Linked DNA regions of Homo sapiens: all the other regions are linked to region 3. The links are contacts of gene promoters, found by promoter capture Hi-C in blood cells and fetal thymus (Javierre and others, 2016). All regions are on one chromosome and are shown on one strand. Each heading gives the region's core, a stretch centred on a gene start or on the middle of the fragment in contact. The rest is flanking DNA. Distances are from core to core; before and after follow the strand shown.

Evidence for each region. Contacts are between HindIII fragments. The CHiCAGO score rates a contact against its expected background, and 5 or more counts as called.
Region 1: the fragment with the promoter of ASPDH here is called in contact with a fragment that was not itself captured in region 3 in 7 of 17 cell types (total CD4 T cells, naive CD8 T cells, total CD8 T cells and 4 more); the score reaches 9.6 in total CD4 T cells.
Region 2: the fragment with the promoter of NAPSA here is called in contact with a fragment that was not itself captured in region 3 in 2 of 17 cell types (total CD8 T cells and total CD4 T cells); the score reaches 7.6 in total CD8 T cells.

The regions. Positions count from the first base shown.
Region 1 is chr19:50,512,464-50,515,190 of GRCh38, forward strand. ASPDH (aspartate dehydrogenase domain containing) reads right to left here and starts at 1,450. Exons shown (of 7, transcript NM_001114598.2): 1 at 1,309-1,450; 2 at 809-953; 3 at 464-548; 4 at 198-347; 5 at 1-117. The coding sequence starts at 1,360. All of the region lies in intron 1 of LOC124904747 (a long non-coding RNA gene), which reads left to right. The HindIII fragment of the contact is 8,504 bases long and covers 1-2,727 here.
Region 2 is chr19:50,364,365-50,367,064 of GRCh38, forward strand. NAPSA (napsin A aspartic peptidase) reads right to left here and starts at 1,275. Exons shown (of 9, transcript NM_004851.3): 1 at 1,175-1,275. The coding sequence starts at 1,257. The region is part of intron 3 of LOC105372437 (a long non-coding RNA gene); the gene reads left to right. RefSeq lists an enhancer at 1,476-1,625. The HindIII fragment of the contact is 17,836 bases long and covers 1-2,700 here.
Region 3 is chr19:51,112,268-51,114,967 of GRCh38, forward strand. No RefSeq gene overlaps it. Among named protein-coding and RNA genes, the nearest start is that of CTU1, 5.2 kb to the left of the region's middle. The HindIII fragment of the contact is 1,951 bases long and covers 430-2,380 here.

The sequences.
Region 1 (2,727 bases), core at 200-2,699, 600 kb before region 3:
GAGCCCACGGACAGGGCCTTCGTAGAGCACAGTGCAAGGCCCAGGGCTGTGGGCTGCAGCCAGGGGTCCCTCAAGCCGGAAGCCATCGGGGTGTGTGGCCATGGTGACACGAAGGCTCTGGAAGCAAGAGCCCGGGTTAGGGGGAGTGGGGTCTTTGCAGGCCTCCCCTGGTTCCTGGGGAGCCCAGCAGGCCTCACCCGGAGGCCCCCAGCTGCATCCAATCTCCTGATGTCCTCAGCGCCCCACAGGGCCCCTCGGGCCACAAACACGGCGTGGTCCCAGTGCTGTGAGGCCTCCAAGAGCTGCCGCTCTGTGGTCTGGTCACTTAGAGCTGAGGGGGACCCCACCTGGGGTGGATGAAGGAGGGGAGGGTTGAGGTCAGGGAAGGATATCCACTTCAGGGTGGGGTGAGACCAAGACAGAAGGGGCAGGGCTCTGCGTAAATGGTTGGGGTGGGGCTTACCAGGAGATTGGCATGGCGCAGGATTTGTGCCCCAGATTCATGGATTATTTTGGGATGGGCCACTTCCACAACCAGATCAGGGCGCCTGGGAGAGGGGAAAGAGGGCGGAGGGTCTTGGAGAGGTATTAGGCCTCTTCTCCCCAAGGTTCCCTCCGAGTCTACTGAGGGCTGCCCTTCTTCTCCCTGACCTGGGAGGCGAAATGAGATGAATGGGTTCGTCCTGTTTCACATTTGCTTGAACCAAGGCCCAGAGAGGGTCAGGGAACCCCTGAGATCACACAGTGGCTAAGAGAGCCAGGACAGGAGCTTCAGGGAGCTCCACTCTCCCATGGCAAGGTCACTGACCTTTCCCCAAGGGCAGCAAGGTTCTGGAGCTGCAGGGAAGGGGGCACGCTCCCTGCCATTCGTCCTGGGTCACGATTCCAGACAAAAACAAGTTCTAGGCCAAGTTCTGGTCCCTGAGCCAAGAGGCGGGAGACGAGGGACTGTCCTGGGGAGAGGGAAAGGAGAGGGCTAGAGATCCAGAGAGAGGGGGACAGAGACCCAGAGAGAGAGGAGGTGGGGACAGAGACCCAGAGAGAGAGGAGGTGGGGACAGACTCAGATTGCGGGGTAGGGAGACAGAGATGGGGGCAGGGCAGAGACACAGTGGGGTGGACAGAGGCCCAGAGAGAAGGGAGACAGAGACGGAGAGGACAGAGACCTGGGGTGGGGGTGCAGTGGGCAGACCCAGAGACACAGCCAGGGGCAGATAGAGAGAGAAAAAAGTGTTTGTGGAGGGCAGAGAGTCTTGGGAGCTTTAGGAAGGGGTTTGGGGAAGGAGGCCAAGGATGGTCAGGGACTCACCGAGGCGGCCATAGCCCACCACGCCCACCCTCCACGGGCCCCTGTCGGCCATGGCCCTGAGTGCGGTGTCTGGGGCCTGGCTCCCTGGGCTGCTCGCTGCCCGCTGCACAAGGCCTGGGCAGCCGCTGCTCTTTGGACATCTGACCCTTGAGCCTCTGGGCTCAGTCTTCCCCCTTCCCCGCAGGCCCAGCGTGGGGGCGTGGGCCTGCGGGAGTGGAGGCGGGAGAACCCTTCCCTGTGCTCTGTCCACTTTCCCGGGTCCAGCACAGTGAGCATGGTGACCGGGGGTTCTGGGAACCCTGCGTGCCCCCCTTTCCCCTGCAGCACACCCTCTTTCTCCCTGCTGATGTGGAAAGTTTCCTCTGCAGTCCCCTGCCCCCTCTCTGGCCGGCCAGGTTGTCATGGAAACTGCATCTTGCTTTGGGTTGGGAGAAGAGATGGTGACAGGGACTCTGGGCTCTGTCTGTCCCCTCGTGCTCACCTCTCCTCCTTGTCCTCAGGCGGCTAAGGTCTGAGGGAGGCTTCAGCCTGGCCGTGGCCCTAGCCCTCCCAGAGGCAGCGGGAGCCCTGGTTGTGGCTTCTCCTCAATGTGCCCTTGCCTCAGCGGGTCCAACCTCCCTAGCCCCGCTGCGCAGCACGGGTCCCCTTCCCACAGCCTCCGCCCCTGTCCACAGCCTCCCTCCGCTCTGATCATCCTTCAGTTCACCTTGACTTGCTACCTTTCACTCTGTCCCCCATCGTGCCACCAGCTGCCTCCAGTGTGACGTTCTCGCTCCCACGTCCGTCCCTCCCGTTCCCCAGCTCGCGTCAGCCCAGGAGAAGCCTTCGAGGCCTGGAGAGGCCAAGTGCCCCCAACATGAGCCCCAGCCTCTGTGCCTTGAGGGTGCCTGGCATCGGAAATGGCGCAGGCTGCGGCAGCGCAGGCTCCCTGCCCCCAGCCACCACCTGGTACCCGCTGCAGTGTTTCCATGGCAACCAGGATTGGCGCTGGAAGGAGGCTGGAGAGAAAGAGAGCGTGAACGGGAGCATGGGGTGGGGGGGGCGGGCACTGGGTGGCGAGAGCCCCAAGTTGACGGGAGGAGAGAGGAGACAGACGCGGGCAGACAGAGAGGGGCCAAGACCCCGACGTGGCACCCAAAGGCTGCCGCTGCTGATAAGGGAGGAATTGGCTTCCAGAGCCAGGAGCCCCCGGTGTGGGAGAGATGAGATGCCTGGGTGTAGACAGAGCCAGGAAGGGGGCAGGGGCCAGGCACCTCACGGAAGTGGGGGGCCTCCCGCCATCTCTACCTTCTGACTCCTGCTGGGGCCTGAGTGTCCCCATAGTGCCCATAGCTGCCGTGTACGGGGTACAGCCTGGGCCACTACGAGGGGAGAAGGGGGCTGGGCGCAGGCCTGTGTGTCCTCAGGGCTGTGTCCCCG
Region 2 (2,700 bases), core at 25-2,524, 750 kb before region 3:
CAGCACTTTGCGAGGCTGAGGTGGGTGGATCACGAGGTCAGGAGATCGAGACCATCCTGGCTAACACTGTGAAACCCCATCTCTACTAAAAATACAAAAAATTAGCCGGGCGTGGTGGCGGGTGCCTGTAGTCCCAGCTGCTTGGGAGGCTGAGGCAGGAGAATGATGTGAACCCGGGGGACAGAGCTTGCAGTGAGCCAAGATTGCGCCACTGCACTCCAGCCTGGGCAACAGAGTGAGACTCAGTCTCAAAAAAAAAAAAAAAAAAAAAGTCCTGAGAGGAGGGGGAGGGGTCCTCAATCTAGAGTCTCAGTGTTGTAAGATCTGGGACTTAAAAGGGCTCTGGGACCGGACGCGGGGGCTCACAGCTGTAACCACAGCACTTTTGGAGGCTGAGGCGGAAAGATCACTTGAGGTCAGGAGTTCAAGACAGCCTGGCAAACATGGCGAAACCCCATCTCTACTAAAAATACAAAAATTAGCCGGGCGTGGTGGCATGTGCCTGTAGTCCCAGCTACTTGGGAGGCTGAGGCAGGAGAATCACTTGAACCCGGGAGGCAGAGGTTGCAGTGAGCTGAGATCGCCCCACTGCACTCCAGCCTGGGTAACAGAGCAAGACTCTGTCTCAAATAATAATAATAATAATAAATAATAATAATAATAATAATAATAATAAAAGGGCTCTGGTCAGCCAGGCGCGGTGGCTCACGCCTGTAATCCCAGCACTTTGGGAGGCCGAGGTGAGCGGATCACGAGGTCAGGGGTTCCAGACCAGCCTGGCCAACATGGTGAAACCCCGTCTCTACTAAAAATACAAAAATTAGCTGAGCATGGTGGCGCGAGCCTGTAATCCCAGCTACTTGGGAAGCTGAGGCAGGAGAATCGCTTGAACCCAGGAGGCAGAGGTTTCAGTGAGCTGAGATCATGCCATTGCACTCCAGCCTGGGCAACAGAGTGAGACTCCATCTCAAAAAAAAGAAATCTGGTCTTAAGAGATGTCAGAGTGGAGCCCTTAGGGGTGACAGCCTGGTTTAGAGATCTGGAAAGCTGAGAAAGAAGCTCTAGGGATCCTGGGTGCCAAGTTTGGGGATCACTGAACTGGGAGTCCTAGACTTAAAGGGCAAGAGGCAGAAAATCCCTCCTAAGGTTGGGGTGGTAGATGGGGTCACCATACCGGATCAGTGTGGCCCCGGAAGGCTCCACATTCAGCAGAGGCAGCAGCAGCAGCAGGGGTTGCAGCAGCGGTGGTGGAGACATCGCTGGGGACCTGGGTGTGAACCCAGGTGTCCTGGGGCCTCATTTTCTTTCCCCTGTGACTCCACCCTGTTCATGCCCCACCTCCAGGTTTAGAAGGAGACCAGGACATGAAATCTGTCCGCAGGTGACGCAGTGGGACAAGGATGTTTTTTGAAGATTTGTGCAGAGTATTTTTGTAGGGTTGGCAGAAGTAGCATCCTGTGCTCCTGGTGCTCCTCACTCCCTACTTGGGTGGCAGTGGTGGTGGGGTCTCCTCCACCGTCACCACCTCCCACCCCCCCATCCTTCAGCTGCTGTCAGTTTTACTTTTAACTTTCACATAACTTTTCTGAGACTTATTAACCACAAGTGTTTCCTTGGCCAAGTGGGAGAGACCAGCAGGTATCTGTGAAGGGCCTGGGGGAAGGGAGAAAGGACATGATTAGACACCTGCCCTCACATATGAAGTGGGCCCGCATTTCAGGACCCAGTCTCTTACTGTTTTATTTGTAGGTGAAGTATGTTTCTTGTTGACAACAGATCATTGGGTATTGTTTTTTGTTTGTTTGTTTTTGTTTTTGTTTTTTGGTTTTTTTTTTTTTGAGACCGAGTTTCACTCTTGTTGCCCAGGCTGGGATTACAGGCATGCGCAACCACGCCCCACTAATTTTGTAGTTTTAGTAGAGACAGGGTTTCTCCATGTTGGTCAGGCTGGTCTAGAACTCCCGACCTCAGGTGATCCGCCCGCCTCAGCCTCCTAAAGTGCTGGGATTACAGGCGTGAGCCACTGCACCCAGCTGATTCTCAATTATTTCAATCTCTTTGTTAAATTTATGTGATGGAATCTGAATTCCTTCTGTGTGTTAGCTTGAATTTCTTTGAGTTTCCTCAAAACAGCTATTTTAAATTCTCTGTCGGAAAGGTCACATATCTCTGTTTCTTCAAGGATTGGTCCTTGGTGGCTTATTTGATTTGTTTGGTAAGGTCATTTATTCTGGATGGCCTTGATGCTTATAGATGTTCATTGGTGGCTGGGCATTGATGAGTTATTTATTTATTTATTTATTTATTTATTTATTTATTTATTTAGATGGAGTTTTGCTCTTGTTGCCCAAGCTGCAGTGCAATGGTGTGATCTCAGCTCACTGCAACCTCTGCCTCCCAGGTGCAAGTAATTCTGCCTCAGCCTCCCGAGTAGCTGGGACTACAGGCACCCGATACCACCCTGGCTAAATTTTTTTTTTTTTTTTGAGATGGAGTTTCACTCTTATTGCCTAGGCTGGAGTGTAATGGCGCCATCTTGGCTCACTGCAACCTCTGCCTCCTGAGTTCAAGCGATTGTCCTGTCTCAGCCTCCCAAGTAGCTGGGATTATAGGCGCATGCCAGCTAGTTTTTGTATTTTTAGTAAAGACAGGGTTTCATCATATTGGTCAGGCTGGTCTCGAACTCCTGACCTCAGGTGA
Region 3 (2,700 bases), core at 155-2,654:
GTGAGCCACTGCGCCGGCCGTTTCTTGCCTGGACTCTCTCACCCCAACCTCTAATCCCTTCATTCCTGAATCCTCCCACACTAGCCCCAGATTTAACCTTGTCTCTCCCCTTCTCGAAACTCTTCCATGGCTCCCCATTGCCATCAGGCTTTCCATTGTCAAACCTCTGCAGACTGCAACGGAGGTGCTGCATGATCTGGTCCCTGCACACCCTTCCAGCCTCAGAATGCCTTGCCATCTCCAGGTCATCTAGCTGCCATCCTAAGCAATCCGCGTCTGGTGGAAGATATGGTGGCTGGGCTCAGCTGTCTCTCTCCAGCTCTGGGAGCTTTGGTTCCTGCAGCATCAATGTGCATCTCTGAGGGCCATTTCCTATATCTGGTGCTTGTTACTGGCAGCACTTGCTTCCCCACCCCTCGAAGGGCTAGAAGCTTCCCTGGGTAGAATTTCTGCATGAAGAGAGTTCGTTCACCCGTGGAGCCTACTGAGGAACGGGATTTTTGTCTGTGGTTGGTTGGTTTGTCTGTTTTCATTGTAGTGTATCAAACAGTCCTTATTTTGCCCTAAGTCCAGCTCTGTCCCACTGCCTTCTTGTTAGTTTTTGCATCTCCTTACTAAATGGTAGGTCTGCCTGGGTTCCCACAGCAGTGCTAATAAACTTTGTTGGCCAGAGGAGGCACCAGGAAAGACTCTCTGTTGGCAACACTCTCTGAAGGGCCCTCTGTTTCTCTTTGGCCTTGTCTCTCGTTCTCCTCATCCCAGGAGCCTTTTATGTGAGTTTCCACAGCTCCTCCTCGCACCCTCTCTTCTCTCTGCACTTCTCGTGGCTCCCCCCGATGTCTTGCACACCATGCTGTTCATCCCAATCTGCTCTGAGCCCCAGACAACCACATTTCCCCCCTTCTCAGTGATGGAACCATCATCATTATCCAAATTAGGATTCTAGGAGTCAGATAGATATTTCTCTATCACCTACCATATCCTGTTTGCAAGATGTCTTGCAAACTTCCCTTCCTGGAATAGGCTCACTTCACTCCCCCTTCAACATCCCCATGGCCTCTGCTCCTAGTCATTTCATCCTCTTCCTCTTCTGCTCAGACCTCCACTCTGTTTTCCTCTCCAACTTCTTGGCCTCCACTCTCCTCCTCTCCCTAAAGTCTCCCTCACATCACCCCAGAGGGATACCTTCTCCCACCAAGAGCTGACTCTGCCCCTCCCCCTTGCTCTTAATCCTTCCATGGCTCCCCAGTGCCCTCAATATAAAGTCAAGACTTTTTTTGATATGTAAGCCTGCAAGATACGGCTTGCAACTATTCTTCCAGAGTCATCATGCCTTGATACCTACCTCTGGGGTCATTTAGCTGACTACCTGCCCCACATTTGGACGTCTCTGAACATTTGTCACCTGGTAGCCCAATCCTTAAGAGGGGAGAAACAGGCCTGCCAGTCTTGCCCTTCCCCTTTATCTGTTTGTGCTCAGCTCTGGGGCCCTGGAAAATGCTCCTCACTCCTCATTCCCAGGGCAAGTCTCCATCTAACATGTAGTAATAGGTGAAGACATTTTTGTCTATTTTGTTCAACAAGAATCATACCTGACATATAATAAACTCTCAATATATGTATTCAAAAATTAAAAAATAAAGCTGTTACTTGTGAAATCTCTGCCTGTAGCCCAGGTCTTTGTTCTGACCCCAGCACCCTCCTAATGGCCCCGTTGTCTGTGAAGGCATTTTCAATGCTCTCCACTGTGCTAGATGGTGAGCCCATAGGGACAGAAATTGGGTTTGTTCTGACTCCTAGAGTGACTTGGTAAATATTGTTGATATAGGATAAGGCTCAGAGAAACCTCTGTCTCAGTTTGATAGGACCCCGAGAAACAAAACTGGCAAGTTGGAGAATCTAGCTCCTTTACAGCCAGCAGCAAGTGAGGCTACTCTTTGTCCTGGAGGGAGACATTACCCCATCCCTCAGGGTGGCTCCCTGCAAACACAACCTGAGAACTAGGCCAGGTAACGAGATCTCAGACCATCATGTTTTGGGCAATACCCAACGAGATGTGTAGGAGGACGGGAGGCTCATGGAGATCTGTCCTTCCCAACAGGCTGCCCTACTCTTCTTAGATGATGTGGGAAACTGCAAAATCCTCTCATCAAATTCTCTTTTACCAGCATACACAAAGATTCCATCACTTGTGATCGACGTCTTAGTCAGTAAGTCTGGACCATTTTGACTGGTTTCCAGTCAGAAAACCAGGAGGATGTGGTGAACAGAGAAACCCCAGTACTCACATTTCACTATTCTTTGCTTTCTCTCTTCATGCTTTGTTTGAAGAAGTTGCAAAATGAGATGACTGGAAGAAAGGGACATGATAGCTAAATAAAGCTTCCTTTTCTTGGTCAGGCACTATAAATCTATTGCACTTTCTCCTGTCTAACAGAAGTCAAACTTTTCTTTTTTTTGAGATGGAGTTTCACTCTTGTTGCCCAGGCTGGAGTGCAATGGTACCATCTCAGCTCACTGCAACCTCTGCCTCCTGGGTTCAAGCGATTCTCCTGCCTCAGCCTCCTGAGTAGCTGGGATTACAGGCGCCCGCCACCACACCCAGCTGATTTTTGTATTTTTAATAGAGACGGGGTTTTACCATGTTGGCCAGGCTAGTCTCGAACTCCTGACCTCAGGTGATCCGCCTGGCTTGCCCTC